3 separate regions of the Homo sapiens genome follow, and all the other regions are linked to region 1. The links are contacts of gene promoters, found by promoter capture Hi-C in blood cells and fetal thymus (Javierre and others, 2016). All regions are on one chromosome and are shown on one strand. The core of a region is centred on a gene start or on the middle of the fragment in contact, and the rest is flanking DNA. Distances in the headings are between cores, read along the strand shown. Region 1 holds the start of LYPD3 (LY6/PLAUR domain containing 3). Region 2 overlaps PLAUR (plasminogen activator, urokinase receptor). Region 3 overlaps ZNF576 (zinc finger protein 576).

Evidence for each region. The method cuts DNA at HindIII sites, captures the fragments that hold promoters and counts their contacts. A CHiCAGO score of 5 or more calls a contact.
Region 2: a contact is called between a fragment that was not itself captured here and the fragment with the promoter of LYPD3 in region 1, in 10 of 17 cell types (fetal thymus, non-activated CD4 T cells, total CD8 T cells and 7 more). The highest score is 14.2, in fetal thymus.
Region 3: a fragment that was not itself captured here is called in contact with the fragment with the promoter of LYPD3 in region 1 in 9 of 17 cell types (naive CD4 T cells, naive CD8 T cells, total CD8 T cells and 6 more); the score reaches 13.0 in naive CD4 T cells.

Annotation. Positions count from the first base shown.
Region 1 is chr19:43,463,739-43,468,030 of GRCh38, forward strand. It overlaps LYPD3 (LY6/PLAUR domain containing 3), which reads right to left and starts at 1,870. Exons shown (of 5, transcript NM_014400.3): 1 at 1,755-1,870; 2 at 587-718; 3 at 1-31. The coding sequence starts at 1,833. RefSeq lists an enhancer at 91-622. The HindIII fragment of the contact is 14,493 bases long and covers 859-4,292 here.
Region 2 is chr19:43,664,644-43,668,935 of GRCh38, forward strand. It overlaps PLAUR (plasminogen activator, urokinase receptor), which reads right to left. Exons shown (of 7, transcript NM_002659.4): 2 at 2,938-3,048; 3 at 673-816. It overlaps LOC124904724 (a long non-coding RNA gene), which reads left to right and starts at 4,121. Exons shown (of 3, transcript XR_007067264.1): 1 at 4,121-4,292. RefSeq lists a silencer at 4,025-4,254. The HindIII fragment of the contact is 2,395 bases long and covers 1,614-4,008 here.
Region 3 is chr19:43,596,872-43,601,163 of GRCh38, forward strand. It overlaps ZNF576 (zinc finger protein 576), which reads left to right. Exons shown (of 3, transcript NM_001145347.2): 2 at 223-322; 3 at 1,960-4,286. The coding sequence starts at 238. The coding sequence ends at 2,387. Among named protein-coding and RNA genes, the nearest start is that of ZNF576, 2.4 kb to the left of the region's middle. The HindIII fragment of the contact is 3,632 bases long and covers 50-3,681 here.

The DNA of each region.
Region 1 (4,292 bases), core at 620-3,119:
CCCCGCACTGCCAGCGAGAATTGTCCGTGGACTAGGGAGAGGGACAAGGGCGGGATTAGCTGTGGGCGTGGTCTCAGATGGGGCGTGGCCCAGAGTTGGGTAGGGTCTGGGAGGGGCGGGGCCTCAAATAGGCCAACACCACAGGACCGACAGGCAGGAATTGGCGGATGGACGCCCCCAAAGAGCCGCTCAGAGCGGAAAGAACGACCGAAGCAGGGAGGAGCGGGGTCACGGAACGGGGGCGGAACCTCAAAGAGCTGAGTCGGAGGAGACAGCCTGGTTGACAGGCAGGGATGGGGAGGTCTCATTGGTGGAGCAGAAAAAGTGCATAGGACGTGACCTCGTTCCAAACCCGAGCTCTCCCCGTCCGCCCCACCCAGTTCTCAACTCTCTGCTCCTCGCGCTTGTAATTGTTAATAGAGAAGGCCTGGCCTGCAAGGCTGTGTCGTAGGGTCCCGGCCAGGCTGAAAGGGAGGGGTGGGGCCGCGTTAAAGGGGCGTGGCCAGATCCAGAAAGGACTATAAGGAGGCGGGGCTGGGCCGGAGGAGCCTGCAGTGGTGTGCGTGGCCCGGGGGTCCCCACTCACTGGTCTCCACCGCCCCCACGGCCTCGGTGCAGACGTCCACGCCCGGCGCGCACTTCACTGTCTTCATCTTGTTCGGGGAGCATCCGTCATCTGCTTTCTGCACGCAGCTGTAGCACTCCAGGGCCTGCGCTCCTGGGGGAGCGGAGCCGAATAGACCTGAGCCCTCCTTGCTAAAGCGTCCACCCCCAAGGAGAAATAGTCCTTCCCATGCCCTCTGTCCCGGGATTAGACAGTCTTATTGCACACACTTTTCCAGGGCAGGAGTAGGGAAAAGCTTTCCACAAATCTGGAAGCACGGGAATCACTGGACCCTTTTCCTTCACACCCACTATGCCAACTGTGGGCACATCCTTCCGACAGCCCTGTATGCCCACTGTAGGCGATCCCCGCCATGAAGCCCCTCATCCCGGGGTAGGAAGGATACCTCCTCACGGTTTTCTGCTCAGAATGAGAGAACTTTTCCCACAGTGTGTGGGAGAACTTTTCCCACAGTAGACTGTGCTCAGTGAGGGATCCCTTCCCACAGCCCCCTTCTGCTCAAATGAGAGAACACTACCCACAGCTTCTCTGCCCAGGACAGGGAACACTTTTTTCTTTTTTTCTTTTTTTCTTTTTTTTTTTTTTGAGACGGAGTCTCGCTCTGTCGCCAGGCTGGAGTGCAGTGGCGCAATCTCGGCTCACTGCAACCTCCCCTCCTGGATTCAAACGATTCTCCTGCCTCAGCCTCCCGAGTAGCTGGGACTACAGGCTCGCGCTACCGCGCCCAGCTAATTTTTGTATTTTTAGTAGAGACAGGGTTTCACCATGTTGGCCAGGCTGGTCTCGATCGTTTGACCTCATGATCCGCCTGCCTCGGCCTCCCAAAGTGCTGAGATTACAGGCATGAACCACCGCGCCCGGCCTAGGAACAGGGGACTTCTTTCTGCAGCTTCAGGATAGGAAAATTTTGCCCACAGCTCCCCTTGTCCGTGGTGGGGAACCCTTCCTACGGCCCATGGTGGAGGACCCTTCCCTCTGCCTCCCTTGCTTAGGATGGGGGAACTTTGCCCACAGTGCCCTCTGCTTATGTGGGGATCCTTCCCACAGCCTTCTCTGTACGGGGCCAGAGGAGCCTCCTCCCTAAGAGCCCCCACTCTACCCCCTCCACCTCTCCGGGCAGCAGACCCACCTCCGCGAAGCAGCAGCAGCAGCAGCCAGCCTGCAGTCCAGATCATGGCCTGGGCACCTGCTTTCCTGGCGGGGTCCATGGCTCCGTCCTGCTCCCTTGGCGTCCCCCCTGGATGTGCCGCCTCCGAGCTCGGGCCCTCTTACCTGAGCCCAGGATGAGTAACCTCGCCCCAGGCAACCCCAGCCTTGCCCAACCGGGCCAACTCAGCGTCGGCTGTGGGGCGGGGCCCCGCCCCTAGGCGCGTCATCCAAGGGAGAGCGGTCCCTGCCCTGTGAAGTTGCCAAGGAGGGAAAGGGTGGGAGCTGAGGTTCCCTGACAGCTCGCGGGAGAAAGTCTGTGTGTGTTTGGAGTGGGAGAGTAGTGGGGCTTAAAGACAGGCTGGGGCTACTCGACATTCAGTGTTCGGTAACTGTTAAATGAGCATCTACAGTGTGCCCGGCTTTGGTCTAGGTAATGCTGGAGATGAAGACAGAACCAGTGCCTGTCCTGGCAGAGCTCACAGTCTGATGGGGGAGACAGATGCTAATCAAATAATCGTACAAATTGGTGTTTACCAAAGAGACTAAGACACTGAAGGAAAAAGTGTAGTGATACAAGGAGATGTGCAGTCTAGAAGTGGGGGCTGGTCGGTGAGGGCTTCCTTGAGGTTATCTGAGATGCAACCTCAAGGGCATGCAGGATGTAGCCAGCTAGAGCAGGTCAAGAGAGGGACACAGCCCTTTACAAGCAGAGGGAACAGCACGTGGGAGCACCTGGAGGTAGGAGGTAGGATGGACCATTCAAACATGGAAAGGAGAGCAGTGCTCCTGAGCTCAGAAGTCCATGAGAGAAGGGCAGGAACTGAGATGAAAGAGTCAGGCAGAGGCCGAGACACTCAGGGCATCAGAGGCCCCGACAAGAGATTTGGATTAATTTTGAGAATAGTAGAGAACCTTTAAGAGGGTCTAAATGAGCTGGAGGACATAATAGATTTGCTTCCTAATATGATCAACCTGAGAAATAGTGCAGCTAGCCATCAAGAAGTAAATGGAGGCCGGGCGCGGTGGCTCATGCCTGTAATCCCAGCAATTTGGGAGGCCGAGCTGGGTGGATCACTTGAGATCAGGAGTTTGAGACCAGCCTGGGCAACATGGCGAAACCTCATCTCTATTAAAAAAAAATAATAAATTTAAAAAAATTAGCCAGGTGCAGTGGCGTGCACCTGCTGTCCCAGCTACTCGGAAGGGTAGGGCAGGAGAATCACTTGAGCCCAGGAGGTGGAGGTTGCAGTGAGCTGAGATCACGCCACTGCACTCCAGCCTGGGCAACAGAGTGAGACCCTGTCTCAAAAAAAAAAATTTAAAAATTTAAAAATTAAAAAAAAGTAAATGGATCTGAGAGTAGGATATATGATTTTAAAAAAGGAAAAAGAAAAAGAAGTGAATGGCAAAAGAGAGTGGTTGGTTCGGCCAATGGAATACTACACAGCAATAGAAAAGATCCAACACCTGATATATGCAGCAACATATCTCAAAAACTTTGTGTTGGGGCCAGGCACAGTGGCTCACACCTGTAATCCCAGCACTTTGAGACACCAAGGTGGGAGGATCACTTGAACCCAGGGGTTTTGAGACCAGGCTGTGCAACATAGTGAGATCCCATCTCATTTTATTTTAAAAAAAGAAAAAACTTGGTGTTGAGTTTAGAAAGCCTTAAACAAACAAACAAAACATACTGTGTAACTGAATATATATGAAGTTTCAGAACAGACAAAACTAACCAGTGGTGATAGAAATCAGAACACATGTTACCTTTGGGAGGGCATGGCCCCAGAAGGAGCAACAGGGAGGAGCCCCCACGATCTTCATCTAGGTGACAGCTGCATGTGTGTACAGATACGTTGAGAATCACTGACTCAGGCCTGTCACTGGACGTATGTTATTCTTCAATAAAAACAAGGTAAAGAATGTCACTGTGGACTCTGTGTAAAAAAGGAAAATGACTCTAGAAGGGGTGAGAGAGAAGGCCAGGAAACCAACAGGGGGCCGTGTAGTTTTCCATGGAAGAAAGAGAAAAACAGCCCCTAACAGCTGGGAGTTGGCCTGACACACATAGTGAGGCCATGGAGTTCAACTGCGCCTAGATAATTTCACAGAGCACCAACCTGGACAAGGCCACACTGCGACAGTAAAGGATCAAGAAACAAATCAATAGCCTGGGCAACACAGCGAAACCTCGTCTCTACTGAAAATACAAAAAATTAGCTGGGCGTGGGGGTGTGCACCTATAATCCCAGCTACTTGAGAGGCTGAGCTGGGAGAATCACCCGAGCCTGGGAGGTTGAGGCTGCAGTGAGCTGAGATTGCGACACTGCACTCCAGCTTGGGCAACCAGAGTGAGACCCTGTCTCAAAAAAACAAAAAACAAAGAAAAACAAAATCAAGACCAATCCATAGCCATGTCTGAACACAGAAACAAACAAGGTCATTGTGCAAACCGCAGAATGACTAAGCATCCCCATATCCTGGCTAATATAAATGACTGCTTATATTATATTAA
Region 2 (4,292 bases), core at 1,561-4,060, 200 kb after region 1:
TGCCCAAGTCAGAGACCATCTATTGCAGAGGATTCTCCCAGCCTACTGCGGCCCATTTAATCTTCCCCTCTTTCGACTTCCCTTAAGAACGTCAAGTCTTTGCTTGAATCCTGGCCCCTCAGTATCTATTGCTTGGACCATCTCCCGTCCCAATGGATTGGGCAGGACCATCTCCTGCCCAGTCAGATGGACAAACATCACTGAGACATCTCATCTATGTCTCATGCATGCGTGTGAGCTTGTTAAGGGCAGAGTTGCAAGTTATACATAACAACCATACATACAAACATGCAGGATGGGGATTGGGTTAAGGATGAAAGTAATTGTGTCGTTGGGGTGGGGATTTGGGTAGTCTGAGATAAGGATGGGGTTGATTTGGGGATGGGGTTGGAACTGTGCTTGGAACAGGGCTGGGTTTGAGTTGGGAACAGTGTTAGGGTAACATGAAGTTGGGCATAGGATTGGAGGTGAAGTTGAGTTGGGGTTGGATATGGGGTCAAGAATGAGTTGGGGATGGAGCTGAGCTAGAGATGGGTTGGGTTGGGGTTGGGACTTGGATAAGGCATGGAGTTGGGGTTCAGCTGATGTAAAGTTAAGAATAGGATTGGGATGATGATGAGGTTGAGCTGGGGATGGCTTGGGGTTGGGGATGGCAAGGGCTGCCCTACTCACCAGAGTTGCCCTGGTTGCACAAGTCTAACCCACACACAACCTCGGTAAGGCTGGTGATCTTCAAGCCAGTCCGATAGCTCAGGGTCCTGTTGGTCTTCTCTGAGTGGGTACAGCTTTTCTCCACCAGCTCCAGCTCTTCTCCTTCTGCAAGGAGGGGATCTTCATTACCCCAGAGGCTCCTCTCAGCTCAACCAGCCTCTGACACTCCTGGTCTCAAGGTCATCCACTCCCAGGGCTGATCTCTGCTAGGCCTCTTCTGTTATTTGAGTCGAACTCTGTCTTTTTCTAGAGTTAACCTTGCCTCCACCCCCACCCCAACAAGGAGCCTGCTCTATTTTATTTCAATTAATTAATTAATTAATTTTTTTTTCCGGGAGACAGGGTCTTGCTCTGTCACCCAGGCTGGAGTGGTGCAATCATAGCTCACTGGAGCCTTGACCTCCCAGGCTCAAGCAGTCCTGCTTCGGCCTCCCGAGTAGCTGGAACCACAGGCTTACATCACCACACCCTGCTAATTTTTAAATTTTTTATACAGATGGCATCTCACTATGTTGCCCAGGCTGATCTCAAACTCCTGGCCTCAAGTGATCCTCCCACCTTGGCCTCCCAAAGTGCTGGAATTACAGGTGTGAGCCACTGTGTCCCACTCCTGCTCTTGTAGTGACAGCACTACAACTGGGACTTTCTGGATCCATCTATCCCTCCCCCACACCCTCAGCTTAGTGATCTCAGTACTGAGATGCCTCAAATGTAACTTTATTTTATTTATTTATTTATTAGAAACAGGGTCTCTGTTGTCCCAGCTGGGGCAATCATAGCTCACCACAACCTCGAACTTCTGGGCTCAAGGAATCCTTCTGCCTTAGCCTCCTGAGTAGCTAGGGGTACAAATGTGAGCTACTGTGCTTGGCTTCATATACTGTTGTTTCATGTGTTCTTAAAGCTTATAAAAAACGTATCATATTCTGCAACATTTTTTTCCCTCTCAACCTTAGGTTTCTGAGATGTGTCCACATTGGTATCTGCAGCTCTATTTCCTTCTTTAAGCTGCAGTAGAGCGCTCCATTATGTAATTATTACCACAGTGTTTCTCTTCTGCTGCTGACTTGCTGACTGACATAAAGTCGTTTCCATTTTCTTCTTTTCTTTCTTTCTCCCCTTCCTTCCTCCCTCCTCCCTCCCTCCCTCCCTGCCTCTCTCCGTCCCTCCCTCCCTTCCTCTCTCTCTTTCTCTCTCTCTCTCTTCCTTTCCTTTCTTTCTTTCTTTCTTGAGATGGAGTTTTGCTCTTGTCGCCCAGGCTGGAGTGCAATGGCACAATCTCAGCTCACTGCAACCTCCGCCTCCTGGGTTCAAACAATTCTCCTGTCTCAGCCTCCCGAGTAGCTGGGATAACTGGTGCCTGCCACCAAGCCCGGCTAATTTTTGTATTTTTTAGTAGAGACAGGGTTTCACCATGTTGGCCAGGCTGGTCCTGAACTCCTGACCTCAGGTAATCCACCTGCCTCAGCCTCCCAAAGTGCTGGGATTACAGGTGTGAGCCACCATGCCCGGCCCACCTTTCTCTCTTTCGTTCATTTTTTTGACAGGATCTCGCTCTGTCGCCCAGGCTGGAGTGCAGTAGCATGATCTCAGCTCACTGCAACCTCCACCTCCCAGGTTCAAGCAATTCTCCTGTCTCAGCCTCCCAAGTAGCTGAGATTACAGGTGCGTGCCACCACACTCGGCTAATTTTTCCTTTTTTGTGTGTGTGTGGAGACGGGTGTTTCACCATGTTGGCCAGCCTGGTCTTGAACTCCTGACCTCAAGCAATTCATCCGCCTCTGCCTCCCAAAGTGCTGGAAATACAGGTGTGAGCCAGTGCCCAGCCTGTTTCCAATTTTCCATGTCACAAACATTGCTGCTAAGAACATTCGTATACATGTGTCCCTGGGTATATGTGGCCAAGGTTCTTTGGCATTTCTGCATGGCGAGGAGTTGAGCTGTAGCATATGTTAATCTTCATCTGGACTAGATATTGCCGAATCGCTCTAAGTGGTTGATGTGCCAATTTACTCCCCCACCACAGACACGGTCTGCAACTCCACATCCTTACTAACCCGGGTATTGTCAGATTTTTAAATGCTTGCCAATCTGGTGGGTGTGAAATGGGCTCTCCTTGTTTGTTTGTTTTTAGTTTGCATGTCCCAGTTACTGGTGAGGAAGGTTTCTCAATCACTCGCGTTCCATGCTGCGCTGGAGGGGTGTGTGGGTTGGGGGGAAGCTCACCTTCCCACAAGCGCACGATCGTGGTCCTGCAGAGGTCCTGTCCCAGGGCGCACTCTTCCACACGGCAATCCCCGTTGGTCTTACACTGCATGCACCGCAGGCCCCAAGAGGCTGGGGGAAGGAGGGAGAGGAGAGGAGAGGTTAACTACGCTTAGCTCCAAGACCCCCGCTCACCCCTGCATGTCCCAATACCAACACCAAGTCTCCAGGCCCCGTCCATTCAGATTCGTGTCCATGTTCTGCTGGGTTCCGGCCGGCGGTACTTCCAGTCTGTCCGTTGTCCACGTTCTACCTCCACCCCACTAACTGAACGTTCTATCCCTGCCCACAAGTCCTTTCCCAAAGTCCTGCCTTGGCCCGTTTTTCCTTTCATTCTGTCCTCGTGAGGCGTATATCCTGACAGTCGTATCCCCGCCCTCTCTATCAGTACGTTCTATTCCTGCTCCTATTAGGTCTTTCTCACCGCACCGGCCCTCGGTCGATTACGCCTCTCCAGTTCTGCTGGGGACGTTCTAGCCTTGCCCCACCCGCGTCGATCTTTATGTTATACCGTCACTCCCAGTGCCCTAATGGAACTATCCCTCCACTCACTCCCCCTGGTTCTACCCGGCTCCAGAGCCTCTCCCGGCCCACTAATTTATTCCCAAATTCTAGGCCCGGCCCCATCAGCCCTCCGGAGTTTCTATTGTTAGATACTCTAGTTTCCCGCGAAGTTCTGTCTCCGCCCTCCAGCTCTCCAACTAGGTTTTGGCCCCGCTCCAGACTCATCGTCGAGGTTCTAGCCCCGCCCTTTAGCTCTTCCTGACCTTATCTTCCCGCCCCCTAGCTCCTCCCCGATGCCATAACCCCGCCCCTAGCTCCTCCTCGAGGCTTTAGTCCCTCCCTCTAGCTCCTCCTTGAGATTCTAACTTCGCCCTTTAGCTCTCCCCGCCCCTAGTTTTCCCCTGAGGTCATAACTCCGCCCCAGTCCCTTCTTGAGGTTTCAGCCCCACCCTGTAGCTCCTCCCCGAGGTCGTAACCCCCGCCCCTTGGCCCCTTGAGGTCCTAGCCCAGCCCCGTAGCTCCTCCCCAAGCTTATAACCCCGCCCCTAGCCCCTCCTTGAGGTTCCAGCCCCGCCCTCTAGCTCCTCCCCGAGGTTATAATCCTGCCCCTCAAGAGTCTAGTCCCACCTTCTAGCTCCTCCCGAGGTTATAACTCCGCCCTCTGGTTACGCCTCGAGGTTATAACCCCGCCCTCTGGCTCCGCCTCGAGGTTCTAGCCCCGCTCCTAGCTCTTCCTCGGTCTGTAACCTCTCCCGTAGCTCTTCCTTGAGGTTCCAGCCCCGCCCTCTGGCTCCTCCCCGACACTCTCTCCC
Region 3 (4,292 bases), core at 616-3,115, 130 kb after region 1:
CTCTAGGGGAGTCCCAAACCCAGGAAATCCAGTCCTTTGGGAGGTTTGAAGCTTCTTTTAGCAAGAACTCCATCAATTAGAGTTCAAGGAGATAGTATGTCGTAGGGGTCAAAGGCAGGCAAGGAGAGCCTCTGGCGATGTCAAAGGTCATAGACTTAGGGTGCCCTCTAAGACTGGTAACAGATGAACAGCTTCACTTATGCACGCTCCTCTCCTGACTAGAAGGGTCCCAGCACCATGGAGGACCCGAACCCTGAAGAGAACATGAAGCAGCAGGATTCACCCAAGGAGAGAAGTCCCCAGAGCCCAGGAGGCAACATCTGTGAGTACACATGGCTGGCGGGCTAGAGGAGGGTGGGGTGCAGGAGCTGATGCTAAGATCTCTGTGGCACTTCGGTGTCCAAGGCGCCACAGAGTTTTGCCTGTTGAGAAGGGGCTGTAATGGTCCCTGAGCTGCTCTAGCAGGAAGTGCATCTCCTCACACCAGCTTATGTGGCCAGAGTACTCACCCTCCTCTGGCCACATAAGCAGGATTGCAATGCTTATGCATTCAGAGGGATAGGGTGGCTTCCAGGAGAGGCTTGGGTTGGAGATGTGGCTGGGAATGGTTCTATTGGGAGAGAAACCCCAAGATTCTGGTCCCAACTCTGCCCTAGACTTTCAGTGTAACTTGGGCCTTGGTTTCCTTGACTGTCAAAAGAGGGTGGTACTTCCCACCTCACAGGGTGGGTATGGGATTAACTGCAGCAAAGGGGAAAGCTAGGGGTTAATGATGGTAGCCAGTTTGACATGTAATAGCAACACCTCCTGCTCAGTGTTTTATTATGAGCTAGGTGTATTTATTCTCATATTATGAACCATTTTAACATTCATTATCTCATTGAGTCCTTCTAATAATAGGCCCTTTAAACTGGGAACTGAGGCAGAGAGAGGTATTTGTAACAAGAGCTGTAGTCTCAATGCCCTTGAGCCAGAGACTACCAGGAACACACCTGCAGTTGAACACGTTGGGTTTCTCACTGCAATGAACACAGACCATGGGGGGACTGTGGGGTGTCTCACTAAGAATGGTAAAAACGACACAGGATTTGGGCTTGTGGGTGGTGATTTTGGGGAAGGTTCAAGCAAAATTGTTTTGCTCTGGATTGGATGCTACCAGGAAGCAGGGGCAATTCTATGATTGGCTATCGTAATAAATCTTACCCAGAAGGAGGAAGGAAGGAGGCGAGGCTCAAGCTCTGACTGATAAAGCAGCAGCAGACATTCACATTAGCCAGGATAGGAGGATGTTTGGTCATTTTTCTGCTTGGACAGTATTCATATTTTGTCTGTGCTCAGACATTATGATGATGTAGTCTTGTCTTGATTCATTTTAGTCACAGCGTGGCCTTGTCTGTCCTTGATATTCTGTGAAAATTTATGTTCAACAGAACACCAAGGTCTAGCTGTGAGTACCAGGCCAGATCCTGGATGTCGGGCTGGATTTCTCTGTATCATTAGTCATAATTGCAAATGACTGTACAGCAATTCATTTATTCCTTCCAACGGTCCTATGGAGTAGATACTGTTATTAGCCCATTTTCCAGATAAGGAAACTGGTGTAATTGCCTAGGAAGTGGTGGAGGTGAGATTCAATCCCAAGCAGTCTGGCTCCAAAGGCTGTGCTGTAATCACCATACCCCTCTGTTGGGCAGGCTGACTCTCTGGGTTCCAACCCTGGCTCCACCATTTCCTTTCCTAGCCTCATGACTATGGGCAACTTGCCTAACCTCTTTGAATCTCAGTTTGCTCATCCATAAAATAGGTGCAAGAACAGTTCTCCTGTTTGGTTGTCCAGCATTAGCATAGAACCTAGCACATAACACATTCAATGTTAATTGTTGGTGTGATTCTGGGGTTCAGGAAGAGGTCTTGGAGACTCCTGCTGGCCTCCCCTGACCTCTCCCCCACATTCCTCAGGCCACCTGGGGGCCCCGAAGTGCACCCGCTGCCTCATCACCTTCGCAGATTCCAAGTTCCAGGAGCGTCACATGAAGCGGGAGCACCCAGCGGACTTCGTGGCCCAGAAGCTGCAGGGGGTCCTCTTCATCTGCTTCACCTGCGCCCGCTCCTTCCCCTCCTCCAAAGCCCTAATCACCCACCAGCGCAGCCACGGTCCAGCCGCCAAGCCCACCCTGCCGGTTGCAACCACTACTGCCCAGCCCACCTTCCCTTGTCCTGACTGTGGCAAGACCTTTGGGCAGGCTGTTTCTCTGAGGCGGCACCGCCAGATGCATGAGGTCCGTGCCCCTCCTGGCACCTTCGCCTGCACAGAGTGCGGTCAGGACTTTGCTCAGGAAGCAGGGCTGCATCAACACTACATTCGGCATGCCCGGGGGGAGCTCTGAGTGCAGCTTAAGCCTCTCCACGGTGACGGGTGGCTCTGTGGCTGGTAGGACTCACCCATGATATGGGGTGCAGGAACTCTGGGGGCCCTGAAGGATTTGCTTCCCTCCCCTGGGAAGGCAGAGGGCTCTTAATAAAGAGGACCCAGAAGATTCTTATTTAGAGCTTCAGTCTTTGGAGCACACAGGGCCTTCGTGAGACAGTGAAATCAGATAATAATGAGATCTTTTGTTAAAAAAAAAAAATGGGAAGGGAGTGCGGGAGAGAAATGGTTTGTGTCTCCCTTATTCCCAGTTAAATACCTAGCTGCAGATTGTGCCATCACCCTTCATTCTTCCCAGATGGATGCCATGGGCTATGGGAGCAAATTGCCCTGGACCTTTGCCTGAATGGGGGCAGGAAAGGTGAGGTGTTGCTGGCCTGTAATGCCACCAGGTGAGTTCCAGATGTGGAGCAACTTGGGCTTTTGGGGATGGGGCAGCAAAGTTGGGAGCTGGACCCCAATTGAGTGGGGGTAGCAATTGGAGTCCTTGTGTCTCTTTTCCACCCCCTGCCATCCTCACTTAGAGGGGCCATGGCACTAGATGGCACTAGTCCCCCGATAATTTATGTCTCGTTGAAATAATTTTGTATATCATTCTAGTCCTGAAATATTTTTTTCATATGTGTAGGTGAAATGGTATGAATAAGCTAACAGGAATAGTATCTAAAAACAGAAAACATCCATATTAAAATGTCTAAACAGGGAGCTCTGGCTTTTGAGTGGGAATTTCCAGAGAACATAAGGGTGTGGGCAGGTGGGGGAACTCAGGCCAGAGTTGGCCTCGCTTTGTGGGGAAACTGGTTTGGAATCAAACAGAGATACCTTCTGTTTCGGGTTTTATTTGGCCAACACTGGGAGATTTCCCATTAAGATCCTATTTTCAGCTCTCTTGAAAGGCCCAACCTAGGCTGACATTGTCAGCAGGGGCAGGACAGAAGTTACAACAGGCTGGAGGGAGCAGTGGGTGTCACCCTCAACTGGAGATGAGTCCCACCAGGCCAGTTTTACCCCCTTAGTTACCTGCCCTGCACCTGCAGACAATGGTCGATGCCTTGCATATAATACTTATAGACTCTGTTTATGTTGAGGGATGTTTTTAAAGCCCACAGGTGAGGTGGATGTGGTAGACTGATCACTGTCTCTGTTTTTAGCTAGGCACACAGTAGCTGAAAAGACTGCATTTCCCAGATTCCTTTGCAGCTAGATGTGGCCTTGTGACTGATTTCTGGCTAAATTCCTGGGTAGAACAGTCAAGCTTAAGAAAGGGACGGCTGGGCACAGTGGCTCACGCCTGTAATCCCAGCACTTTGTGAGGCTGAGGCCGGTGGATCACCTGAGGTCAGGAGTTTGAGACCAGCCTGGCCAACATGGTGAAACCCTGTCTCTACCAAAAATACAAAAATTAGCCGGGTGTGGTGGCATATGCCTGTAATCCCAGCTACTTGGGAGGCTGAGGCAGGAGAATTGCTTGAACCTGGGAGACAGGTTGCAGTGAGCCAAGATCGTGCCATTGCACTTCAGCCTGGGTGACAGAGTGAGACTGTTTAAAAAAAAAGAAAAGAAAGGGACATACCTTTTTTCCACCTTCCTAACTGTAATACGGAAATGGTATCCAGCCATCTCAGACCATAAGGATAAGAGCAACACGTGGGAAGACAGAGCAACAAGATAGGAGCCTGGGTCTCTCGTCAATTTCAAGGAGCACAGCCACCATACCAGCCCACTTCCATATTGCTATCTAAGAAAGAAACTTCTATCTTATTTAAGCCACCATTATTTTGGGTCTCTGTCACATGCAACAGAATTTACAGCCTAAGACAGGGGTCTGCAAACTATGGCCAACTCTAGCCTGCTGCCTGGTTTT